5 separate regions of the Homo sapiens genome follow, and all the other regions are linked to region 1. Evidence: promoter capture Hi-C in human tissues and cell types (Jung and others, 2019). All regions are on one chromosome and are shown on one strand. Each heading gives the region's core, a stretch centred on a gene start or on the middle of the fragment in contact. The rest is flanking DNA. Distances are from core to core; before and after follow the strand shown.

Region 1 (2,564 bases), core at 17-2,516:
TTGCATTACATAGAAGTTTATCACTAACCTATGTTCCTGAACTATGAAACATGAATATGTGGGCAAAGAAATAGCTTATCTTTATAGACAATTAACAACAACAAAAACAGTCTATGAATTAGAGAATGTCCATGCCTTTTTTAGGCCGAGTTCAGTGGTTCATGCCTGTAATCCCACCACTTTGGGAAGCCAAGGTGGGCAGGTCACTTGAGGTCAGGAGTTCAAGATCAGCCTGGCCAACACAGCAAAACCCCATCTCTACAAAAAATACAAAAATTAGCCAGGCATGGTGGTGCGCACCTGTAGCCCCAGCTACTTGGGACGCTGAAGTGGGAGGATTGCTTGAGCCTGGGAAGCTAAGTAAAGTTGCAGTGAGCTGCGATCACACCACTGCAATCCAGCCTGGGCTACAAAGCAAGACCCTGTCTCAAAAAAAAAAAAAAAAAAAAAAAAAAAAAAAAAAAAAAAAGTCCATGTCTTTTTAAAAGGATGGAAACATTTTAAGTGTTCTCTAGATTTAGCCACACAGTATAATTTTAGGGTGACAAGTTGAGCTGAGTTGGGTGGAGGTGGTGAGCAGAAATCAAAGTGGGTGGATGTCAGGAAGAGAAGGTGACAGTGAAGGAGCACTGTGATAAGGCGGTTTGGTTATTCCTTAATGGAGCTGTCTCAGTCCACCAGAGGCAAAGCCTTGAAAGGCACGTGGCCTTACCATGGCTGTCACTCTTGAATGCATAGGCTTTGCTAGCTAAACTTAGAGTTACTAAAGAATTGAGCCCGGCGTGGTGGCACGCTCCTGTAGTCACAGCTACTGGGGAGGCTGAGGCAGGAGGATTGCTTGAGCCCAGGAGGTCCAGGCTGCAGTGAGCTATGATGGTGCATTCCACTGCACTCCAGCCTGGGCGACACAGCAAGACCCCGTCTCAAAAAAAAAAAAAAAAAAAAAAAGGGAGAATTGAGGAGAGGCAAACAGCTATTTGTCCTCATTATATGCTTGGCCAAATTCCTTGGCCCGGGGTTTAGGGAAAGATGGGAGTGCGGCGAGAACTGGCTTCGAAGCGGGAGGGCTGCAAGTCCCATGATACACCGGAAGAATCTGGCGTCGAGGCCGGCCAGCTCCAAAGGGCAAACGCTGTCTCCCCCACCCAAGGTAGCCTCGGCCCGCGCCCAAGTGGGTGTGGCTGCGGGAAAGCCCCGCCCCCAGGACGCTTCTCCAATGGGAACTGCCCTCGTGTCCATGGCAACGGCGGCGGCCACGGGCTTGCTAGAGGAAGCGCTGCCCCGGCAGCCGCAGCCACGGCCACCGGGAGCTAGGAGTGAACCCCTGCGGGGGAGCAGCTTCCCCCTCGCGATCGTGGGGACAGCCAGTCCTGTGAAACGAGGAGGCGGTTCCGGACGCCCAGAAACGCCCAGGGAGACCTGGAGCCGGGGGAAGAGGGGACATGAGCGGCCAGCTGAGTCCATCCCCAGGCGGCTAGGGGCGGACCCAGCAGCCCCTCAGCTCTCCTCGTAACCACGGGTGGGCAGTCTCCACCGTCACAGCCCAAAGGGTCTTAGCCATCGGGTGCCTGTCCCTAGTGTGTACACGTGCAGAAAATGAGTCCTGGGAGAGGGAAAGGGCCAGCGTAGGGGGCTTTTGGTCTTCAGCTGTATTTTATTTTATTTATTTATTTATTTATTTATTTAGAGACAGACTCTTGCTCTGTCGCCCAGGCTGGAGTGCAGTGGTGTGATCTCGGCTCACTGCAACCTCCACCTCCCAGGTTCAAGTGATTCTCCTCCCTCAGCCTCCCGAGTAGCTGGGATTACAGGCAACGCACCAGCACACCCAGCTAATTTTTGTATTTTTAGGAGAGACGGGATTTCACCGTGCTAGCCAGGCTGCTCTCCAACTCCAGACCTCAAGTGATCTGCCCGCCTCAGCCTCCCAACGTGCTGGGCCGATTCAGCTGTATTTTAAAGCGAAGGTCCCCCCAGCACTCACAGCCATCCTCTTTCCCAATTAGGAACAAAAGAGCCATGGTCATGGCCCATACCATCTGTGTCCAACTCCTGAAGGCACCCCTGTGCGTTGTATGATCCAGTGTGAACCTGGATGATTGGGGCTTGTCATCAGGGAATCCACATCTCACTGGTGTCTTCCACCCCCATGCACCTCCACCTACCTGGACACATCCCATTCCTCAGTGAAACAGTTTTGTCCTGAAGGGGCAGCAACTTTCCCTTATAACAGCATGAAGGTCGTTCTGGTGGATTCCTTCAGGCCTTCTAGGGCCTGAGGGAGGTCTGAGGTCTGATATACACTTCATTCCCACCCCGCAACCCCTCAGAATCTGAGAGAATGGAGCCGAGTACCTGTAGGACCATGGAATCAGAGGAAGACTATGTTGAGGAAAAGGAATCTGAGAAGTGTGTTAAAGAGGGAGTTACCAACCCCTCTAACTCTTCACAGCAGGCTCTCTTAAAAGCTGACTATAAGGCATTAAAAAATGGGGTTCCCTCACCCATTATGGCCACAAAAATTCCGAAGAAAGTCATAGCCCCAGTTGACACAGGCGACTTAG
Region 2 (2,564 bases), core at 32-2,531, 420 kb after region 1:
CCACAATCTCATTCCAGACTCCAGAATGTGAGAAAGTGCATTTCTGTTGTTTATAAGCCTATGGGAGTCTAAAGCAACCTGAATGGACTAAAATAGGTGATGAGAAAGTAAAGCACAGAGTGCATATGAAACTTTCTAGACACTTGAACATGACGCTGTCCTGGGAGCCCTTTGGTTATATTCTCCTCCAAAAGCCCAAAGACCCTGTAGTACCATCACACAGCTATTTTGTTTTGCATATTTTTCTGGAAAAAAGGATAAAACAAATTATGACTGCGTATGATTCAAAGTCCCACCAAAATCTGTATGCCCCTTTCTCACAAAGACACATTTTACATCTTTGTTACAAAATTAATATGGGTTCTTTTTCTGAAAGTTCCTAGGATAACTCTTGTCCTCAAATTGTGCCAATTACTGAACAGAGAGGGTTCTGCCTTAAATGAGGAAATGGAATTATGATTGGAACACGTCATTGCTGATTATCGCTGCTCCCAAAAGAAGATGTAAAGAGGTTCAGGTTCCTTCCTTTTGTTTCATTTGTTTGCTTGTTTGTTGAGACAGTGTCTCAGACAGGCTGGAGCGCAGTGGCACGATCATGGCTTAACTCCCTGCAACCTCGAACTCCCAGGCTTAGGTGATCCTCCCTCCTCAGCCTCCTGAGTAGCTGGGACTACAAGTGCACGCCATCACACCTGGCTAATTTGTGTATTTTTTTGTAGAGATGGGATTTCGCCATGTTCCCCAGGCTGGTCTTGAACTCCTGGGCTCAATGGATCTTCCCGCCTCAGCCTCCCAAAGTGCTGGGATTACAGGAGTGAGCCACCTCATCAAGCCCAACCCCCTCCCTTTGAAATAGACTGGTTGTGGATACTCTGTCGGTTCCCCAAGAGGATGGAGAATCCAGTTCTCCCTGGATATATTTTTGTAAAGTACACCAAAGGAGAGGACTAAAGCCACTGTAGAAATAACCAGGGCTGTATGATGTTGTAGAGAGAAAAAGGAAAGTAGAATGAACCCTTAGGACTGGTGTATAGGTTTCTTGGTGTCTTGACATTTCCACCACATTTCTTATTTTAAAGAAACTGAAAAAGTGGTGGACATAGAGAAGGGAGCGCTTCCTGGCTTACGCCGAAGGAGAGCGGAGAGACAGGTGGCAGGAGGGGGAGATGGAGTCCAGGGAGCCCGCCCTTCCTTCCTTCCTTCCTTCCTTCCTTCCTTCCTTCCTTCCTTCCTTCCTTCCCTCCTTCCTTCCTTCCCTCCTTCCTTCCTTCCCTCCCTCCCTCTTTCTTCAGAGTCTTGCTCTGCCGCCAAAGCTGGAGTGCAGTGGTATGATCTCAGCTCACTGCAACCTCCACCTCGCGGGTTCAAGCGATTCTCCCGCCTCAGACTCCCTAGTAACTGGGACTACGGGCGTGTGCCACCACACCTAATTTTTGTATTGTTAGTAGAGATGGGGTTTCACCACATTGGCCAGGCTGGTCTCGAACTCCTGACCTCAAGAGATCCGCCCACCTCGGCCTCCCAAAGTGCAGGGATTACAGGTGTGAGCCACCGCGCCTGGCCCCAGGGAACACCTTTCATGGAAAAGACGAGCATATTTAAATGCTGACACACTGTGGGCAGAGAGTCTGGAGACAGTGGGAGAGACCTGGTTTTGCGGTTCTAGGCCAATAGGAGGGGTGGGATTGAGAGCCCAGGAGCAGGGACTGGCCTTCGAGAGAAAGGGGTGAGCATTCAAGCAGGGTGTCTGGTGAGGGCTGGGAGGGAGAGATCAGGAAGTTGAAGGAACTCTCATCTGATGGATTCTCTTTGTTCTGTGCAATAGGAAGAGAGGGGTTAGTGATGGCAGAGGGATGGGAGGGATGCTGAGCTGACAGAAGGTTTAGAAAAGCTGGTAGGAGGAAGGGAGAAAGAGCCGGCCAGGGAGGTAGAGCAGGCTGGTAGGAAGCGTCACAGGCACTGTGGGTGTTCCCCCAGTATTCATCTTCTCTTCTTCCACGGCGATGGAATATCACTGGTCACTCAAAGACCAAGGGACAAGGGTTGGGTTTTTTATTTTGTTTATGTGCTTGTTTTTTTTTTTCCCCAGCCCAAACATGTTTATCATGAACTCCCTTTTCAGAGCAATGAGAAGCCTCAACATACTTCTTTTTTTTTTTCTTCTGAGAGAGGGTCTCACTCTGTCTCCAAGGCTGGAGTACCGGCATGATCATGGCTTATACAGACTTGACCTCTGGGATCAAGCAATTCTCCCACCTCAGCCTCCCAAAGTGCTGGGATTACAGGCATGAGTCACCACGCCTGGCCCCCAACACACTTCTTGACAGAGTCTGTGGTATCTGCAACCTGAGAATACACACAAAATGCCCAAGCGTTATTCTCTGCACCAAGGCTGCATTTCCCAGGACTCTGACCCCATTTGCAAAAAGAGTCCAGCAGCAGTGAAGGGCCCAGTCTAAGGTGTCACTATTCATCTCATGGCTACCCTGGAAGGAGAGGGGGGCTCTGCACTACAGGATGGTGTGAATTTTGCCCAGCACTATGTTTTTAATATTCATGTATAC
Region 3 (2,564 bases), core at 42-2,541, 380 kb before region 1:
TATTTATCTCACCTTTGGCCAAGTAGCCAGTGACATCATTCTCCTATATCAAGAAATCAGTCTGTGAACAGATGAACCACGATATAGGCCTAGTAATAATCTTATGCACGTTAAAACTGTTAGTAGATCTTAGCAAAAACAAAACAAAACCCAAACTATTAAATCTATTAAATAAAACATGTTCTAGGACTATCTTAAGAGTAAAAAAAAACAAGAAACAATATGAAGATGTAGAGGTGGCTACAGATGCCCAAGGCTCTTGGTTTTCTAGTAACCCTAGTTTGGAAGAGAACTGCAAGAGAATATACCTTATCCATATGGAAGATCAAATCCAATTCACACACATTTTCGAAACACTTATCCAGAGTTTCCACAAAAACCTAGAAAACAAGGAGAAATAGATAAAGAAGAGAAATAGGAACACATTCACAGCTTTATCAATGTCACATCTGAAAGTAAAAGGGGCTGTCACAATACTATTTACTTTATGATAAATCTCAAAAATTAAAACACCTACCTTTTGTCTCCAGCATTAGCTGATCACCCTACTTATCTCGATTTAGAGGGAATAATCTAGGACAGGAAAACCTTGTTTTCAGCATAGCAACACAACCAGCAGACACATGTGGCTCTTTCCCCCTTTATAAGATGCTAATTTATGGTAGGGCATGGTGGCTCATACTTACAATCTCAGCACTTTGAGAGCCCAAGGCAGGAGGATCACTTGAGGCCAAGAGCTCACGACCAGCCTTGCTAACAAGACGAAAACCCATCTCTACTAAAAATACAAAAATTATCTGGGTGTGGCGACACGAGCCTGTTATAGTCCCAGCTACTTGGGAGGCTGAGGCACGAGAATAGCTTGAATGAGAATCATTTGAGGTGGAGGTTGCCATAAGCAGAGATCGCACCACTGCACTCCAGCCTGAGTGACAGAGTGAGAGTCTCTCAAAAAAAAAAAAAGAAAAAAGAAAAAAAATTACATAAAAGAATAACAAATTAAAAAAACCAACTACTTACAATACTATGTCCTCAATGAATACATGTACAAAAAATTTTTCATTATTACAGGGTTAACATAGCTGTGTTTTAATTTCAGCCAAAATTAACTTCAAAACATCTTCCCTTTTTAATTTTTTTGGTCAGTTATTTAGCCTACAAAATACCTTCCTATGAATAAATTTAATTGACGTGTTTACAACTTAAAATTTTTTTTTAAAAGCCCTGAGCTTACTTCTCTATAGAACCTTTTAACTTTTAATAAAACATAACAGAAAAGTGTACAAATGACAAGGGCACAGTTTAATGAATTTTCAGAATGAACACACCATGTAACTACAACCTAGGTATCTATCTATAACTGTTTAATTTCTCTCAGACAATGACCTCATTTAAACAATCTCATTGTCAGCAGTGTCATGAATTGTTCGGCACTGCATGAAAATGGGTCTTACTTGAGGCCAGCAAGTGACAGAGACCAGGCACACCGTTCCACTGTAGCACAAGATGGGTGCTCATAGGCAAACCACCCTGCAGCGGCTGCTGGGGAGACAGACCCACTTGCCATGAGGAACCAACGCACACTATTGGAGCTGATCCTGCTCTGTCTCTTCTCTATGTAAGTAAAGCTTTATCCAGTGTTTGCACTTTTTCCTTGCCGACTCTGATACCAAGATGCAATGGGCAAGAGCATTTAGATTCCTTTCTTGAGACTGGTAACCAGTGCACTGTATTTTGCCAGATACCAACCATTTTGGAAAACTATGACATTATGTATGCATGCTCTATGATCTAGGAATTCTACTCCCAGATAACATATCTAACAGATATATACATGTATGCCAAAAACCACATACAATAATTTCATATTAGTGCCATTCATAAATCTTTACATTTTTAACAGTGCCAGAATATTTCACTATAAGGACACATAGTTAAATGGGTCTATTTCTCAATCACTATGCTGGGTACTTGGTAAGCCCTTATAATCCTGCAGTTCAAGTCCTTCAGTTCTGGGAAATTTTATCGAATTATTTTGTTGAGAATTCCCTCCTTTCCACATTCCTAATCAATCTTTTTGGAGCTGCTTATATTCAAGTATTGGACCTCTGTCTGTCTTCTTTTTTTTTTTTTTTTGAGACAGACTCTCGCTCTGTTGTCCACGCTGAAGTGCAGTGCCACGATCTTGGCTCACTGCAGCCTCTGCCTCCTGGGTTCAAGCAATTCTCCTGCCTCAGCCTCCTGAGTAGCTGGGATTACAGGCATGCACCACCACGCCTGGCTAATTTTTGTATTTTTAGTAGAGACGAGGTTTCACCATGTTGGCCAGGCTGATATCCAATTCCTGACCTTAAGTGATCCCCCTGTCTTGGCCTACCAAAGTGCTGGGGTTACAGACGTGAGCCACTGTGCCCGGCCTCTGTCTTATTTTCTCATCTTTTCTCTCCCATTTTCCATCTCTGCCCATTCTGAGACAATTGATTAACTTGATTTTCTAATACTTCAGTTGAAGTGGGTTTTTGTTTGTTTCCATTTCCTCTCATTTTTTATTTCTAAGAGACCAT
Region 4 (2,564 bases), core at 37-2,536, 350 kb after region 1:
CTGAGTTTAAAGATGGCAGTGTACTGAGAAAAATGGTAAACTTCTACTTCCTGAAATTAAGCGTTTCTGAACAGAGATTCATCAAATCTGCAGAAAAGAGAAAGGCAGATAACCGTAGGTTCTGAGGCTCGGTGTTTCCTCCCTAATGGCTTTGCCAACAGAAATACTGACAGGTTTTGTCTGTCACGGGCCTTACTATTTATCACCTTTTCCTCTCCTACCTCCTACTGTGGTCTTGCCTCATCTGTACTTCATGTACCTTAAGCCTAATAGTGAATGTTGAAGAAATGTCTCTCTTTGGAAATTATCTGTTTTATTTTATTGATTTAAGGTCAAATTAAGAAATAAGATAATGAGACTTGTCAAAGAAAACGAATACATAGAAGATGAAACTTGCAATCCTAATGCCTCTCCTGGCAAAGAAGACATTTCCCACCAAATCACTAAGAACTCATGAGAGCCTCCGTTTTCCTAATTCCAGATTCTGTATTTATTTGAGCTGCCCAGCCCAGGCCTGCAGGATAGGGCCCCACTCCATCAAGGCTCCTGTTTCCTCCTGAGCCCGAGCAGATGGTACCTTCTCTTATAGCCTCCATCCTTCCCAGAACACTCCAGGTACTATTTTCTATTTTCTGGGGGCATTTGGCATAGTTCACTGTTTCCTGAGAGGCAGCATAGCTTAGCGGAGAGCTCTCAGGCTTTGGTGTCAGTGATTTGTGGGTCTGACCCCTGATCCACCAGGCGTGCTATCTGATCTTGGATTTCTCAGCTCTTCTAGAACTGAGCCTCAGTTTCTTCAGCTATAAAATGGGGAAAATATCTGCCTCTCAGGATTGAGGTTAAATAAAGTGTGAACTCAGCACAGGCCTGGCACACAGTAGGTGCTTAGATATCTGTTTTCAAATTTCTGTCTTAATGTGTAGTTTGTATCTTCTTTATTATTTCCACCTTAAGAAATAAAAGTTTGGGATGAAAAGTATTATTGGTAACTGCCGAATGTATATTTAATCCAATCAGTGATCCAGGAGACAAAAGGAATGGGCTTGGTTTGGGTGAGTGATAAGGAGGCAACCTTCCACATAGGAGGTGAGAAAGGGGAAATGGCCTTAGCAAAGGCAGAGGGGCAGGAAAATACAGGCTGTGTTTGTGGAACTCAGAAAGCTGGAGGGAAGACAAGAGCAGAAGAGACCATTGTCCCCAAATTGTGGATCACCGCAATTACTAAGCCAGTAAGTTTTGATTTTGCCTTTTAGGCTGAACAAAATCATTGAAGATTTCTTAGCAGAATAATATGATTAACAGTGTCTTCAGAAGGCTATTGTGTGGGAACAATTAACTAAACGAATGAAAACAGCGCCCCTCTGCTCGGTGTGTAGTGCAGCATCCCATTTGTGTCTCCGTGCGTCCAGAATATGCTCCAAGGCATGGTAGACCCAGTGAACAACACAAGACTGATAAGACAGTGCCCCCAACAACACTGGAAAGTTTACCTTTCTTCACACATCTAATGCGCCTCTTTTTTGGTTATAAATACCAGGAACCGCCGGGCGCAGTGGCTCACACCTCTAATCCCAGCAATTTGGGAGGCCGAGGTGGGTGGATCACCTGAGGTCAGGAGTTCAAGACCAGCCTGGCCAACGTGGAGAAACCCTGTCTCTAATTAAAAAAAATACAAAATTAGCCGGGTGTGGTGGCGCATGCCTGTAATCCCAGCTACTCGGGAGGCTGAGGCAGGAGAATTGCTTGAACCTGGGAGGTGGAGGTTGCAGTGAGCCGAGATTGCGCCATTGCACTCCAGCCTGGGCCAAAAAAAAGAGTGAAACTCCGTCTCAAAAAATAAATAAGTACCAGGAACCCACCTTAACTTAAAAAAAGAAAATGTATTGGCATATGTCACTGGAAGCCCAAGGGCTAGATCCAAGGGGTCATACAATGTCATTGAGACCTACCTCTGTGGTACCACTTCTGAGATGACTTCAGGCATAACAGACAGGCTTTCTCCAAGGTGAAGACCCCCAGGTTCAGACGGCCCTTGGGCTTACCAGCCCTATTGGGGCACTCCTTTTTTTTCCACTCAAAAGCACTCTCCTTGGTTCTGTTTGCGTCGTGAGCCGATCCCTGAGCCAAACACTGTTTCCAGGGGGTGAGGTACCTAGACTAGAATCCTGGGCCTGGGTCCCTCACATGTGGCACAGAGGGAATGGCAGTGTTACCAGGTTTGGAGCAAGAGTGGAGACAGTTCCTGAAAACAAAAGTTGCCGGACAGGCAAAAAATAATAAACACCCCACAAAAAATCATGCAAAGAAAACACCGGTTAGAAGACAGCAGAATAGACTTGTCCTCAAGGAGGGAGATAAGAGAAAGCATGAAGGAAGAGCTGTCAGGTACAGGGATAAGGAACCAAAAACTCAGTTGTTTAACTCTCTGTGAGTCCACCTTGTTAATTCTGCTTCATCTTTCCATTAATTTTTATTTTTCCTTTATTAAAAATTCTACTTTGATGGTAGTGCTTTTGGAGCCAATTATTCCTCACAGCCTCTGGATGAGAGTTGGCCAAGGTAAG
Region 5 (2,564 bases), core at 47-2,546, 330 kb after region 1:
TTGGCATATATGTAGAAGTTATTGAGTTAAAACTGAAAAGGCACCTTTAATTTATGACAGTATCATAACTTTAATTAAAAAATCAAACTTGTTATTTGGAAATGTAAAATCTTCCCCAAAGTAGAATAAAGAACCCCCATAGACTCATCACCAGATTCAATATTTTTCAACATTTTGCCACTCTTGTTTCATCTGTCCCCTCCCCTTTGTTTTTTCTCTTTTAATTCCAAATTACAATCTCTTCTAAACTCAGTGAAGTGTCCTACCAAGTTGAATCACAGCGGTGGATCTGGTGTGATTCAGAATGCAGTGGGGGTGAAAGGAGGGAGTCGGCAGGCTGACAGGTGCCTGTCTTTTACATATATTTCCTACGGCAGGAAGAGGTTGGTGTGGGATGAACAGAGGCTCAGGCACTTTGTCTCCTTTCCTGCTTGGCCTGAAGTGCCTACCTGACCCTTGTGGCCTCCAAGGGTGCCTTTGGCCAGTTGCCTTACCAGCCACTAGGCCGGACTCCTGCCACTGCTCAAGTCTTAGTTGATCAAAAGCCAGTTCTTCCCTTCTGCAGTTCCTTTCTATCACCATAAGAAGCAAATCAGCTTCCTCTGGAGGAGATAAATGGGCAAACCTGATTTACCCAGAACATATTTCTCTAGTCATTGTCTTATTAGCATTAAAGTTAAAAGGAGAACTACACTCAACGGAAGGCCTCCCTCACCACCCAAAGATATCACACCAGGTGGGGAGGTGGGGATGGGAACAGGCAGTTTAAAACTTCTACTTCTGTGGAGGCTTGGGTGGCGCTCTGTGGAAAGACAGTAAAGTGCCTTTAGAGGCTTGGGTCTGCATTCACCCTGCTATGCCATCCCTGAGAACTTGAAGCTGAAATTCTTCATTTTATCGTGGAAATTTGTAGCTGTACAGAAAAGTAGGAGTAGAATAAGAAGCTCCCATATAGCCCTCACCAGTTTTTAATAACGATCAACACTTTGCATTTAAACTTTTTGATTATGCAGCCTAGTAGTAAAAAGAGTTTTATATCCCCAATTTGGGTATGTTCTTTGTTTTTTAAATTATGTACATATAACACTGTATTGTTAATATTAAGTATACAAAAAAATAGAAAGCTAAGTGGAAACAGAACTTCTAATGTTTTCCCCATACCCTATGCCATCCTGTAAATCCCCTGGGGGTACACATTCCTCTTTGGAGCCAAATCATTTAGAAACATTATGTAATTCAGCAAACACGTGTTGGAGCCCACTGTGTGGCTGACGCTGTGCAAATGCTGGAGGGAAGATGCTGGGGGAGGTCTCACTGCTTACAGCCTGCTCCATCAGGGTCAGGGAATGAACATGATCCATCTTCTCCAGGTGAGAAGCTCTGCCTGAGACATAGACCTTATTCTCTGCCTTTTCTTGAGCAGGATCCCCCAGCATGAACTCTGGGCGTGTTTTATGCATTGTCGTTATTTCTTCTTCTTTTTTTTTAGAGATGGGGTCTCATTATGTTGCCCAGGCTGGCCTCCTATTCTTGAGCTCAAGCGATCCTCCCACCTCGGCCTCCCAAAGTGCTGGGATTACACGTGTGAGCCACCACCACACCCAGCCATTATTTCTTATTTTGAGAAATTATTTTGCCTGGCCCTCTGTGATCATTTTGATTGGTCTGATTTTGACTTTACCTGCTAAAAACAAAACAACCCCAAAACTGTTTTATCTCTATCATTTTCTGGAGTCACCTTTTAACTTAGTTTATCTGTTAACTTTACTTCCCTTTTATCTTTCATTTAAAAATACAGACTAGGAAGGGGCAACACAAGGGCCACAGACATGGTGATAGGCCAGGTCCTAAATCAGCAGGTTGGGTGCTGGTGCCTTCTCTGGTCTGTTCTGCTCTTCATCTCTTCTTTTCATGCCTCACAGCAAGACTTATTTGGTCCTTTGGAGAAGATTGGATCCCCAGATCAGCTGGTCAAAAAAGGCATAGCCTCCAGGTTAAAAACAAACAAAAAACCCATCTAGGTGGTTCAAGGGCTCTGAAAGTCTAATCACTTCTGCGAGACTGGAATAGACTAGCCCCAAAGATAGTGTAGTGCTGGCAGGCTGCTGGGGGAAAAGCCTTCCAAAACCCAGAACAGCTGGGAGCCTCACAGGAGTTTTGTGAACTGAAGCCCCTGCCTGCTGGCATACCTAAGCACTGCAGAGGGCAAAGGAAGAGTGTTGGGGGCTGCTGTCAGAGAGGCTGGCTGGGTGCTGGCAGGTCTGACGCTGGAGATTTGTTATACATTTTGAACTTCTCTTGAAGTTTCTCTTTTCTTTTTTTTTTGAATGATGTTATAATAGGGTATTTAACCAAGTATGACATCCTTTTTTATTCCGCTTAGTTTGTAAGGTAGACTTAAATGATCCATTTAACCCCAAGGCAGTGTGAATTAATAGCAGCCCCTTTGTTGTGGACAGGCCTTCACGACTCCCCCACTTGTCATGAGAATCAAAGGAGGTGCTGGCAGTGCCTAGAATGATCTCCAGCTGGGTTCCCAAGAGAGGCACAGTTGTTCCTTTGTT

Evidence for each region. The method cuts DNA at HindIII sites, captures the fragments that hold promoters and counts their contacts. A contact is called where the count stands out against the background at its distance.
Region 2: a fragment that was not itself captured here is called in contact with the fragment with the promoter of TTLL13 in region 1 in 1 of the 25 tissues and cell types used here (pancreas).
Region 3: a fragment that was not itself captured here is called in contact with the fragment with the promoter of TTLL13 in region 1 in 1 of the 25 tissues and cell types used here (dorsolateral prefrontal cortex).
Region 4: a fragment that was not itself captured here is called in contact with the fragment with the promoter of TTLL13 in region 1 in 1 of the 25 tissues and cell types used here (aorta).
Region 5: a fragment that was not itself captured here is called in contact with the fragment with the promoter of TTLL13 in region 1 in 1 of the 25 tissues and cell types used here (H1 embryonic stem cells).

The regions. Positions count from the first base shown.
Region 1 is chr15:90,248,290-90,250,853 of GRCh38, forward strand. TTLL13 (tubulin tyrosine ligase like 13) reads left to right here and starts at 1,267. Exons shown (of 15, transcript NM_001396017.1): 1 at 1,267-1,519; 2 at 2,331-2,564. The coding sequence starts at 2,342. It also overlaps a transcript of CIB1 not described here. The HindIII fragment of the contact is 10,980 bases long and covers 1-2,564 here.
Region 2 is chr15:90,672,356-90,674,919 of GRCh38, forward strand. The region is part of intron 2 of CRTC3-AS1 (CRTC3 antisense RNA 1); the gene reads right to left. Among named protein-coding and RNA genes, the nearest start is that of LINC01585, 13 kb to the left of the region's middle. The HindIII fragment of the contact is 6,170 bases long and covers 1-2,564 here.
Region 3 is chr15:89,871,167-89,873,730 of GRCh38, forward strand. It overlaps ARPIN-AP3S2 (ARPIN-AP3S2 readthrough), which reads right to left. Exons shown (of 10, transcript NM_001199058.2): 8 at 309-380. It overlaps AP3S2 (adaptor related protein complex 3 subunit sigma 2), which reads right to left. Exons shown (of 6, transcript NM_005829.5): 4 at 309-380. Among named protein-coding and RNA genes, the nearest start is that of MIR5009, 12 kb to the right of the region's middle. The HindIII fragment of the contact is 7,631 bases long and covers 1-2,564 here.
Region 4 is chr15:90,599,827-90,602,390 of GRCh38, forward strand. It overlaps CRTC3 (CREB regulated transcription coactivator 3), which reads left to right. Exons shown (of 15, transcript NM_022769.5): 4 at 2,498-2,559. LOC124903554 (a long non-coding RNA gene) reads left to right here. Exons shown (of 2, transcript XR_007064756.1): 2 at 482-979. Among named protein-coding and RNA genes, the nearest start is that of LINC01585, 59 kb to the right of the region's middle. The HindIII fragment of the contact is 8,040 bases long and covers 1-2,564 here.
Region 5 is chr15:90,581,534-90,584,097 of GRCh38, forward strand. The region is part of intron 2 of CRTC3 (CREB regulated transcription coactivator 3); the gene reads left to right. Among named protein-coding and RNA genes, the nearest start is that of CRTC3, 53 kb to the left of the region's middle. RefSeq lists enhancers at 1,792-2,303, 2,304-2,564. The HindIII fragment of the contact is 4,580 bases long and covers 1-2,564 here.